2 separate regions of the Homo sapiens genome follow, and region 1 is linked to region 2. Evidence: promoter capture Hi-C in 16 types of primary human blood cells and fetal thymus (Javierre and others, 2016). All regions are on one chromosome and are shown on one strand. Each heading gives the region's core, a stretch centred on a gene start or on the middle of the fragment in contact. The rest is flanking DNA. Distances are from core to core; before and after follow the strand shown.

Evidence for each region. The method cuts DNA at HindIII sites, captures the fragments that hold promoters and counts their contacts. A CHiCAGO score of 5 or more calls a contact.
Region 1: a fragment that was not itself captured here is called in contact with the fragment with the promoter of PNRC2 in region 2 in 1 of 17 cell types (M2 macrophages); the score reaches 5.3 in M2 macrophages.

What each region holds. Positions count from the first base shown.
Region 1 is chr1:24,395,821-24,400,370 of GRCh38, reverse strand. All of the region lies in intron 2 of STPG1 (sperm tail PG-rich repeat containing 1), which reads left to right. Among named protein-coding and RNA genes, the nearest start is that of STPG1, 16 kb to the left of the region's middle. The HindIII fragment of the contact is 1,714 bases long and covers 395-2,108 here.
Region 2 is chr1:23,958,318-23,962,729 of GRCh38, reverse strand. It overlaps PNRC2 (proline rich nuclear receptor coactivator 2), which reads right to left and starts at 2,902. Exons shown (of 3, transcript NM_017761.4): 1 at 2,732-2,902; 2 at 1,596-1,801; 3 at 1-1,290. The coding sequence starts at 1,272. The coding sequence ends at 853. RefSeq lists enhancers at 2,636-2,905, 3,806-3,865, 4,044-4,412 and silencers at 3,106-3,215, 3,626-3,725. The HindIII fragment of the contact is 4,127 bases long and covers 1,359-4,412 here.

The sequences.
Region 1 (4,550 bases), core at 2-2,501, 440 kb before region 2:
TTATCTCCCTTCCCTGCAAAAGTAAACACTACGGTTATCCTGACTTCTCATATCATTAATAACTTTAGTTTGTTTTTGAATGTTATGTAAATGTGAATCATACAATATGAGCTCTTTTCTCTCAGGCTTATGTTTCAGAGATTTAACTTCATGTTGGTTTGTCTTATCTATGAGTAATTTGTTCATTTTATTACTCTTGTTTGAATACACCACAATTTATTTATCTATTCTACTACTGAAGGACATTTAGGTTGTTTCCAGTTTGGGGCTATTATGAATAAAAACTTCTGTAACTATTCTTGTACTTGTCTTGTGGGACACATATTTATGTATTTCATGGGTCTATACCTGAGGAGTGGAACTGCTGGGTCATAGGGTATGTTTAGGGTAAGCTTAGTTGATATTGCCAAACAGTTTTCCAAAGTAGCTGTGCCAATTTTACCTCCTTACAAGCAATGTATGTGAATTCCAGCTGCTCCAAATCCTCACCAACATTTTAAGCTCATAATAGTTTTAATTTGCATTGCCTGAGATCAATGAGATTGAGCACTTTTTCATGTTGACTGGCCTTTTGGATATTCTCTTTGGAGAAGTGACTGTTCAACTTTTTTGCCCATTTTCTTCTGCTGGGTCTTGTCTTGTCTTTTCTTTTTTTTATTTATAGGAGTTCTTTAAACCATTCTGTCCTTTTCTTATTTATAGGGATTCTTTATTCTAGAAACAAGTCATTTGTTAGCTGTAGGTAAATGTCATCCCTTATCCTGGGACTTTCCTTTTCACTCTCTTAACAATGTGCTAAGACACAGAAACTCTTGATTTTAATATAGCCCAATTTATCAGTCTCTTTATGTTTAGTGTACATGTCTATTTTATTAATACTTAAGAAATCTTTGCCCATCCCAAGATAGTTTCTTCTAGAAACTCTATTATTTTACCTTTTACATCTAGATCTACAATTCACTTGAAATTGTTTTTGATTGAGGAAGATGCCCGAGTCTGTTGTTTTCCATGTTGACCCAGCACCATTTATTGAAAGGCTGCTCATTCTCTACTACTCTGTATTGCTGTTGCTACCTTTGTCATAAATCAAGTGTCCAGGCATATGCAGCTCTGCTTCTTGATTATTTATTCTGTTCAAATATCATACTGTCCTAATTACTGTAACTTTATAATAACTCTTTAGTAGCATAAGCCCTTCAACTTTGTACTTCTTTGTTTATGCTGGCTATTCTTGACCCCAGTGCATTTCCATATAAATTTATTTTACTTTTTTATTTTTAATTTTTATGGATACATAATAGTTGTACATATTTATGGTGCACACATGATATTTTGATACAAGAATATAATGTGCGATGATCAAATCTGGGTAGCTATACAAATTTTACAATCAGCTTATTAATGTCTTAAAAAAACTCTACTCTCATTTTAATTTGGATTGCATTGATTCTAGAAATCAATTTAAGGATAATTTACATCTTTACAATAAATATTAACTTCTCTAATCCATGTATAGATCCTTTTATTTAAGTTACCTTAAATTGTTCTCAATGTTTTGGAGTTTTCTATGTAGAAGTCTTGCATATCTTCATTATATCTATTGTAGGCATTTGATTTTTATGCTGTTATAAATGGTAATTTTAAATTTTATTTTAAATTGTTTGTTGCTGCTGTACAAAAAAATTAATTGATTTTTGTATATTGACCTTGATTCTGGTGACCTCACTAAATCCAACTATTACCTCTTATAGGGTGTCCACAGATTATTTTGCAATTTCCCCATACACAATCTTGTAATCTGTGAAAATGACAACTTTATTTCTTCCTTTCTCATCCATATATTTTATGTATTTTTAATATATTTTATGTAGGCGTTTGTATTGGCTAGAGACCTTCAGTACAACGTTGAATAGAAGGATAATAGCAGTTGTACTAGTTTCACTCCCTGTCTCAAGGGAAAGCCTTTAATATTTCACAATTTGGTATCCTGTTTGCTATAGGCTTTTGTTATAGACACCTTTTATCAGATTAACAAAGTTTGCTCCTATTCCTAGTTTGCTAGAGTTTTTCTTTTAATCATCAAAGGATATTAGATCTTATGAAAAGCTTTTTCTGTATCTACTAAACAGTTACTTCACCAAAAAAAAGATATACAGAGGGAAAATAGCATATGAAGGACTGCTTAGCATCATTAGTCATTAGGGAAATGCAAATTAAAACCATAATGAGATACCATTACATACCTAATGGGATGCCTGAGATTAAAAAGACTTCCCATTGCTGATAAGAATGTGAAGTCATAGAAATTTTCATACGCTAATAGTGGGGATGTGCAAAAGTACAACGACTATGAAAAATAGTTTGACAGTTTTTTAAAAAGTTAAACATATGATCTAGTCATTCCACTCCTAGGCATTTACCCCGCAAAATGAAAGCTTATGTCCATTTAAAGACTTGTAGATAAAATGCTCATAGCAGTTTTATTTGTAATGCCCCCAAACTGGCGACAACTCAAATTTACATCACCAGTGAATAAACATCATGTTTTTATACAATGGAATATTACTCAACAATAAAAAGCAATGGAGTATTGATATATCAGCAACAGAGATGAATCTCATAGTAATTATGCTGAGTGAAAGAAGCCAGACAAAAAGAGTACATGTTACAGGTATATGATTTTTTTAATCTGTTGAGATACTCGTATGGTTTTTCTTTTTTAGTCCGTTAATATGATGAATTATATTGATTTTTAAATATTAAACTATTTTTGCATTACTGGGGTTGGTCACGATGTATTATCTTTTTATATATTGTCTGGTTTGATTCGCTAAAATTTTTCTAAGGATTTATGTATTTATGTTTATGAGGGCTGCTGACCTCTAGTGATCTTTTTCCCTCTTGTAATGATGCCATATAGTTTTGGTATCAGGTAGTGGTTGCCTCATTGAATGAGTTTGGAAATGTCTTTTCCTCTTCAGTTTTCTGGGACAGCTTGTATGGAATTGATAGGTGGAGTGTTCTATAAATGCCAATTAGGTCAGGTTAGGTAATAGTTTTGTTCAGGTTTCATATATCTTTACTGATCTATCTACTTGTTTAAATTATCGAGGGAGATGTTTTGAGATCTCTGACTATAATTGTGAAATTTTCTATTTTTTCTCGCAGTTTTATCAGTTTCTGCTTCTTATATTTTCAATCTCTTTTTATTGGGTACATCAGCATTTAGGACTGTTATGTTCTCTTGAGGAGCTGACTGCTCATAATGACCCCATTATGAAATGACCCTCTTTATTGCAGGTAATATTTTTTGCTCTGAAATCTACTTTATCTGATAATATCTAACTATCTTTTGATTAGTGTTAGCATAGTAAATCTTTTTCCATTATTTTACTTTTAACTTATTTCTGAGTTTATATTTCAAGTATGTTTCTCCAAGGTAACATATAGTTGGGTCTTTCTTTCTTATCCAATCTGAGAATCTCTGTTTTTTAATTGGGATATTTAGATTATTTACATTTAATGTGATTATTGGTGTATAAGTTTAAGTCTATCATCTTGTGACTTGCTTTCTATTCGTCCCATCTGTTCTTTATTTACCTTTTCTCTGTCTCTTGTATTATTTTTAATGCTTCAATTTTATCTCCTTTGTTAGCCTATTAGGAATAACTCCTTGTAGTATTTTCCTAGTGGTTACCTTAAAGCAACAGTTGGCAAACTTTGCTCCTTGGACCAAATCTGACCCACTGCCTATTTCTATTAATAAAGTTTTATTGGAACACGGCCACCCCAGTTTGTTTATGTATTGTCTGTGGCTGCTTTTACTCCATAATGGCAGCACTGAATAGTTGCCACAGAGAATAAATAGACTGCAAAGACTAAAATATTTACTATCTAGCCAGGCATGGTGGCTCACACTTGCAATCCCAGAACTTTGGGAGGCTGAGGCAGGAGGATTGCTTAAGCCCAGGAGGTCAAGGCTGCAATGAACTATGACTGCACCACTGCACTCCAACCTGGGCAACAGAGCAAGACCCTGTCTCAAAATATAGATCAATAAGATAGATAGATGATAGATAGATAGATAGATAGATAGATAGCTATAGATGGATAGATAGATAGACAGATATGTACTATCTGGCCCTTAGAAAAAGTTCGTTGATCCCTACATACTTTAGAGTTTATAGTATATATCTTTAACTTATCATGGTCTACCATCAAGTGATATTATAACACTTCACATATAGTAGAAGAACCTTAAAACAGTATATTTTTATTTTTCCCTTCCTGGCCTTTATGTTATTGTTGTTAAACATTTTACTTGTACATATGGTATAAACCCTACAAAACAGTTGTTATTTTTGCTTTACATAAATTTTTTTTTTTTTGAGATGGAGCCTTGCTGTGTCGCTCAGGCTGGGGTGCAGTGGCGCAGTCTTGGCTCACTGTAACCTACACCTCCTGGGTTCAAGCAATTCTCCTGATTCAGCCTCCTGAATAGCTGGGATTACAGGCACCTGCCACCATGCCTGGCTAATTTGGTGAGGAGG
Region 2 (4,412 bases), core at 1,653-4,152:
AATTCATACTAAAATACTCCATTTTTGTAAGATAAAGGCCAAGAAAACTTTACATATGCTACAAGTTTATTACAGATATTTACATGGCTCTTTCTCCCCTAGGTACTTAAAATTTTCACATTATCCAACTCCCCAAAGCAAGCTTTGCAGGAATGATGAGGCCAGAGCACTATTAGAATAGCTTGTGCAGTGCTGTAATACAAAAATGTATTTTGAAAGCTATTGAGTGACCATTAAATACTGTTTCTATAAAAAATGGTTTTGGTGTATTTGTTGACAGACACTTAATCCACTACATTTAATAAACAGGGCCATTGGGGTGTACTATGTCTCATTCTAATGAGCTCCAAATGCCCTTTCCACCCACTGTACAATTCACTAAAATGCAATTATTACGAAAAATTCACATTTTCTTTCAGCAGTGCATCAGGTTAGCATATTACTGGTTTGGGTGTTTCTAATATACTAAACCTTCAGATGTTTACCTAATTCTGAATCCTTGTGTTAGCTAGAAGCTTATAATCCGATTCACCAACTTTCAACAATCTACTGGTCCATGAATGATAAATTACTGTCTTCCCCTAACAATAGAAAAAGCTGATTCCTTTACCACTCCCCAAATCTAAACTTGGTTTCCACTTAAAAGTTACTCAGTTGAGAACACTTAATATCAAGTACAATCATTAGTTTAAGTTGCACTGATACTACCATTATATCACAGTGCACACAACACGAGATGGTCTATTTTTTTTACATTAATTAGTTCTACACAAATAGATTCCCTAGCGAATTTGTTTCAGACCAATTGACAACTATCCGTGAACATAACTAAATTTAAACATTTGTCTTATTTTATACCTGTACTTTAAGTAAGGTTTTAAGTTGAAATGTCATTATTTCCTTATCTGAAGGATTAAAGGAAACAGGGACCCAGTGGCTTGGTGGTTTGGGAAGAACACTTGGTGATGGCGGCTCACTAAATTTGGCACCAGCATAGTTCTGATTAGCTTGAGATTTAAAAAGTAACCTGGGACCTGATAAGCTAGAATTCCAACTTTGATTATTTGGAAAATTTTTGTTCTTCCCCCCATTTTGCATGGCCTGCCAGGCAGCTGCTGATGAGTTATAACCATGTCCTCTTTCTTTTTTCTTATGAACAATCTTCATCTGGGAATTCTGTTCCTTGGTCTTCTGTCTGTTAAGCTGTTGTTGGTTCTTACTAACATTTCTAGATTGAGGGGCTGGAATGTTATACCTCTCTCCACCACCCATCTTCAGCTTCTTTGTCACCTACAAGTGAATGGAAACAAATATTGAGTAAAATTCCATTAAGAAAAGTTCAAAATCTTTAAGAAGCTTCTATGGCTCCAACTTATAACTCCAGATATTTTGGACAAGACTCAATAACAGGCTATTCAGCTGCTTTAAACTCAAAAAAGCAAGCCGTTCAGACTTCAATATATGCACAACCTTTATTGTTATACCTTCCCTAAGAAAAATGAGCTTACCCACAAATCTACATAATCTATTTTAAAATAAAAACAATTGGTTTAGGATGGTTCCATCATAAAATGTTTGCCCATTATGATGATTACCTTTCAGTCTGCTTTTCAGATTGCAGGATCTCCACTACCTGTCCTCTTCCTTGCTGCCAAGCCCAAGATAACAAGTGTTGCTTTCTGACAGATCCCTTCCTTTGTCTCAATACAGAAGTTTTCATGGGCCGATCTGCTGAGTTCAGCCTAGGAGCTGAGGCCAACATCTGAGTCTCCTCAGCACACAAGTTTGAGAGAAGTCCTAGCTAGAAAAGTAAAGATTACTTCATTATTTCAAAAACACGTTGAGAAAGTGATCATTTAGATTTACTACGAAAATCGTTGACTGTAAAGAAGGCTACTTCCTGAACTAAAAGGTAGAAAATTTCTCGTAAGATGGCTTTCTTTGACCTTATAACCACGACCATTTAAAAAAACTCTTCACCCTTGAGATCCAGTCACTCCTGGGGAATTTTTGTAAGTGTCTCCAAGTCCCGCAATAAGTTTTATCTTTATCTTTTTCCTGGGAAAGACCTTCAGATTCTCTCGCGTATAAAATCAAGGAAGTGTTAAATGTTGAGTCATATCAAAAAATTGGCTTCAGGCGGATTTTCTAAAGAGACCGTGTTTTTAAACTCCCACCAGAATTTTCCAATCTTTCCACACATGTCACATCCATTTTCAGTCTCTTGGAACATGTAGACATCACGCAGTGTTTCCTTTGGTTATGAACGCTCTCGCCTCCTCCCCGTCTTAAAATAAGTTCTCACAAGCCCTAACAGTCTAAGCCCATCTTAAATATATAAAAATGTCTCCCTAGAGGGAACAGCTTAACTTTCAAGGTTTGGTTTTAATTTGATGTTCCAAGAAAATAAGTTACCAAATAGTTAAGCCCCCTCCTTTCAAAGGGGTAAGAGAGCTTTCCAAACAGATAAACAACCCTAAATAAATTGCCATTTCCGGACTGTGAGTAATTCCCAACTCGAACCCGGAAAACGCCTCCTCCGACGCCACAAGGGCTTGGCTTCCCAGTGGCCCCATCTCTCCGGAGCCGCAGGGGTCGCGGCGCTGCGACCGCCCGTGACCGCCCGCGCCCGCCCGGGTTACCCGGATCTCGCCTCCGCTCGCCTCCTTCCTCCAACAATGGGGAGCGCGGCCACCAACATGGCCGCGCCCTTAGCGCAGCCGCTACTTACTGACTTCAAGCTCGGAACTAACGCGGCAGCGGCTCCCTCTCGACGTCGAAGCCTCCCTCCCTTTCCAGGGAGAGACGAGGCACGGACCGACAAAGCCCACGAACACCGATGAGCGAGCTGCCGGCCACCCCAGCTTCTACAACCCGACCTTCTCCTTCTGCCTCTACCGACAAAATGGAGTCGGCAGCGACTGCAGAAGCAGGGCCGGGAGGCTCCGCGGCCAATCAAAACACGACAGCGCGGGCCTGGCCAATGAGAAGCGGGCCGCCGCCTGTTGCTGGGGCTGGCCGGGGGCGAAGGCGCGGAGGTGGGGCTGCAGAGGGTTTGAAATCTGCCCGGGGAGGAGGAGCATGCCGGGAGTAACTGCTCGGTCCACCGGTGTCTTAGTCCTTTCTCCGGCGGCCTCTCCGCGCCCCTGGCCCGCCGAGGCCCCGGCCGCTAGCTCTCGGCTCTTCCTACCGCTCGGCTCTCGTGCGCGCGGGCTCGCCGCCCTTGGGACTGCCCTGGGGGAAAAGACTGACCGGCGGGGGACGTTTGGTTCTCGAATTAGGGCCACTGAGTCCTGTAGCCTGTATTGACAGATGGAAGATACTCCGGAAAGCCTCTTGCCAGGGCGCAGCCCCCTCCCGCCTCGGGCCTCGGCTTCTGGGTCGCCTCTCTCCCACACCCACAACTCCGCGTCCGAAGCCGGCGCCTCCCCGCGGTTCCCTCCAGTGCCCCCACCCTCCAGCCCCGCAATTACTCAAAAGTTGCCTCCCTGTGAAGGCGGTTCAGACACACGCGGGCAAGTCAGTCACTTCCTGCTTGGTGGCCCCATTGGTCCTTAAGTTCAATTAGAGCCCTTTACGCGCCGTGTTACCGTTTCCTGTGGCTGCAGCTCTCCCCACCCACACACCCTCGAGGGCCACAACCGGTTAGGTTTTGTTTCTCTGAGCACAGCGCCTTCGCGCGTTGTAAGTGCACAGTAAGTTTGCTGAAAGAATGAGGACTGCTCTCCTCCCCTTTCTGCCCCACTTGTAAGTGAAAAAGGGGAAGAAAGAGAATATTGTTCAGTTGATTATGCCAGCCAGATGCAGGTAAGGGGAAAATGGCAATTTCTTTGGAGTAAATGTATAAGTAACCCAATGTGAATCTTTTAAAAGAGCACTAATTTCAATGAGCGTGAATAATTCTGGGCCAAACGGTACAAAATCAGTCTCATTCACAGTTTGTTCGTGTATACACATATATACCCAAGTTTACGTTACAGAATTTATATTTACCAACTTTTTATAAATCTCATGTAATTCGTTATTTTTGAGACGGAGTCTCCTTCTGTCGCCCAGGCTGGAGTGCAGTGGCACAATCTCGGCTCACTGCAACCTCCGCCTCCTGGGCTCAAGCGATTCTCCTGCCTCAGCCTCCTGAGTAGTTGGGATTACAGGCGCCTGCCACCACACCCTCCTAATTTTTGTATTTTTAGTAGAGACAGGATTTCATCATGTTGGCCAGGCTGGTCTCAAACTCCTAACCTCACGTGATCCGCCCGTCTCAGCCACTCAAAGTGCTGGGATTACAGGCGTGAGCCACCACACCCGGCCTGTATTTCGTTTTTTAATCTTCAATTTTTTGCCACCGTTATCCCCCACTTCCCAATCCAACCCAAATTCCTATATTCTAGCCATTGGATCTTAAGAAAAGT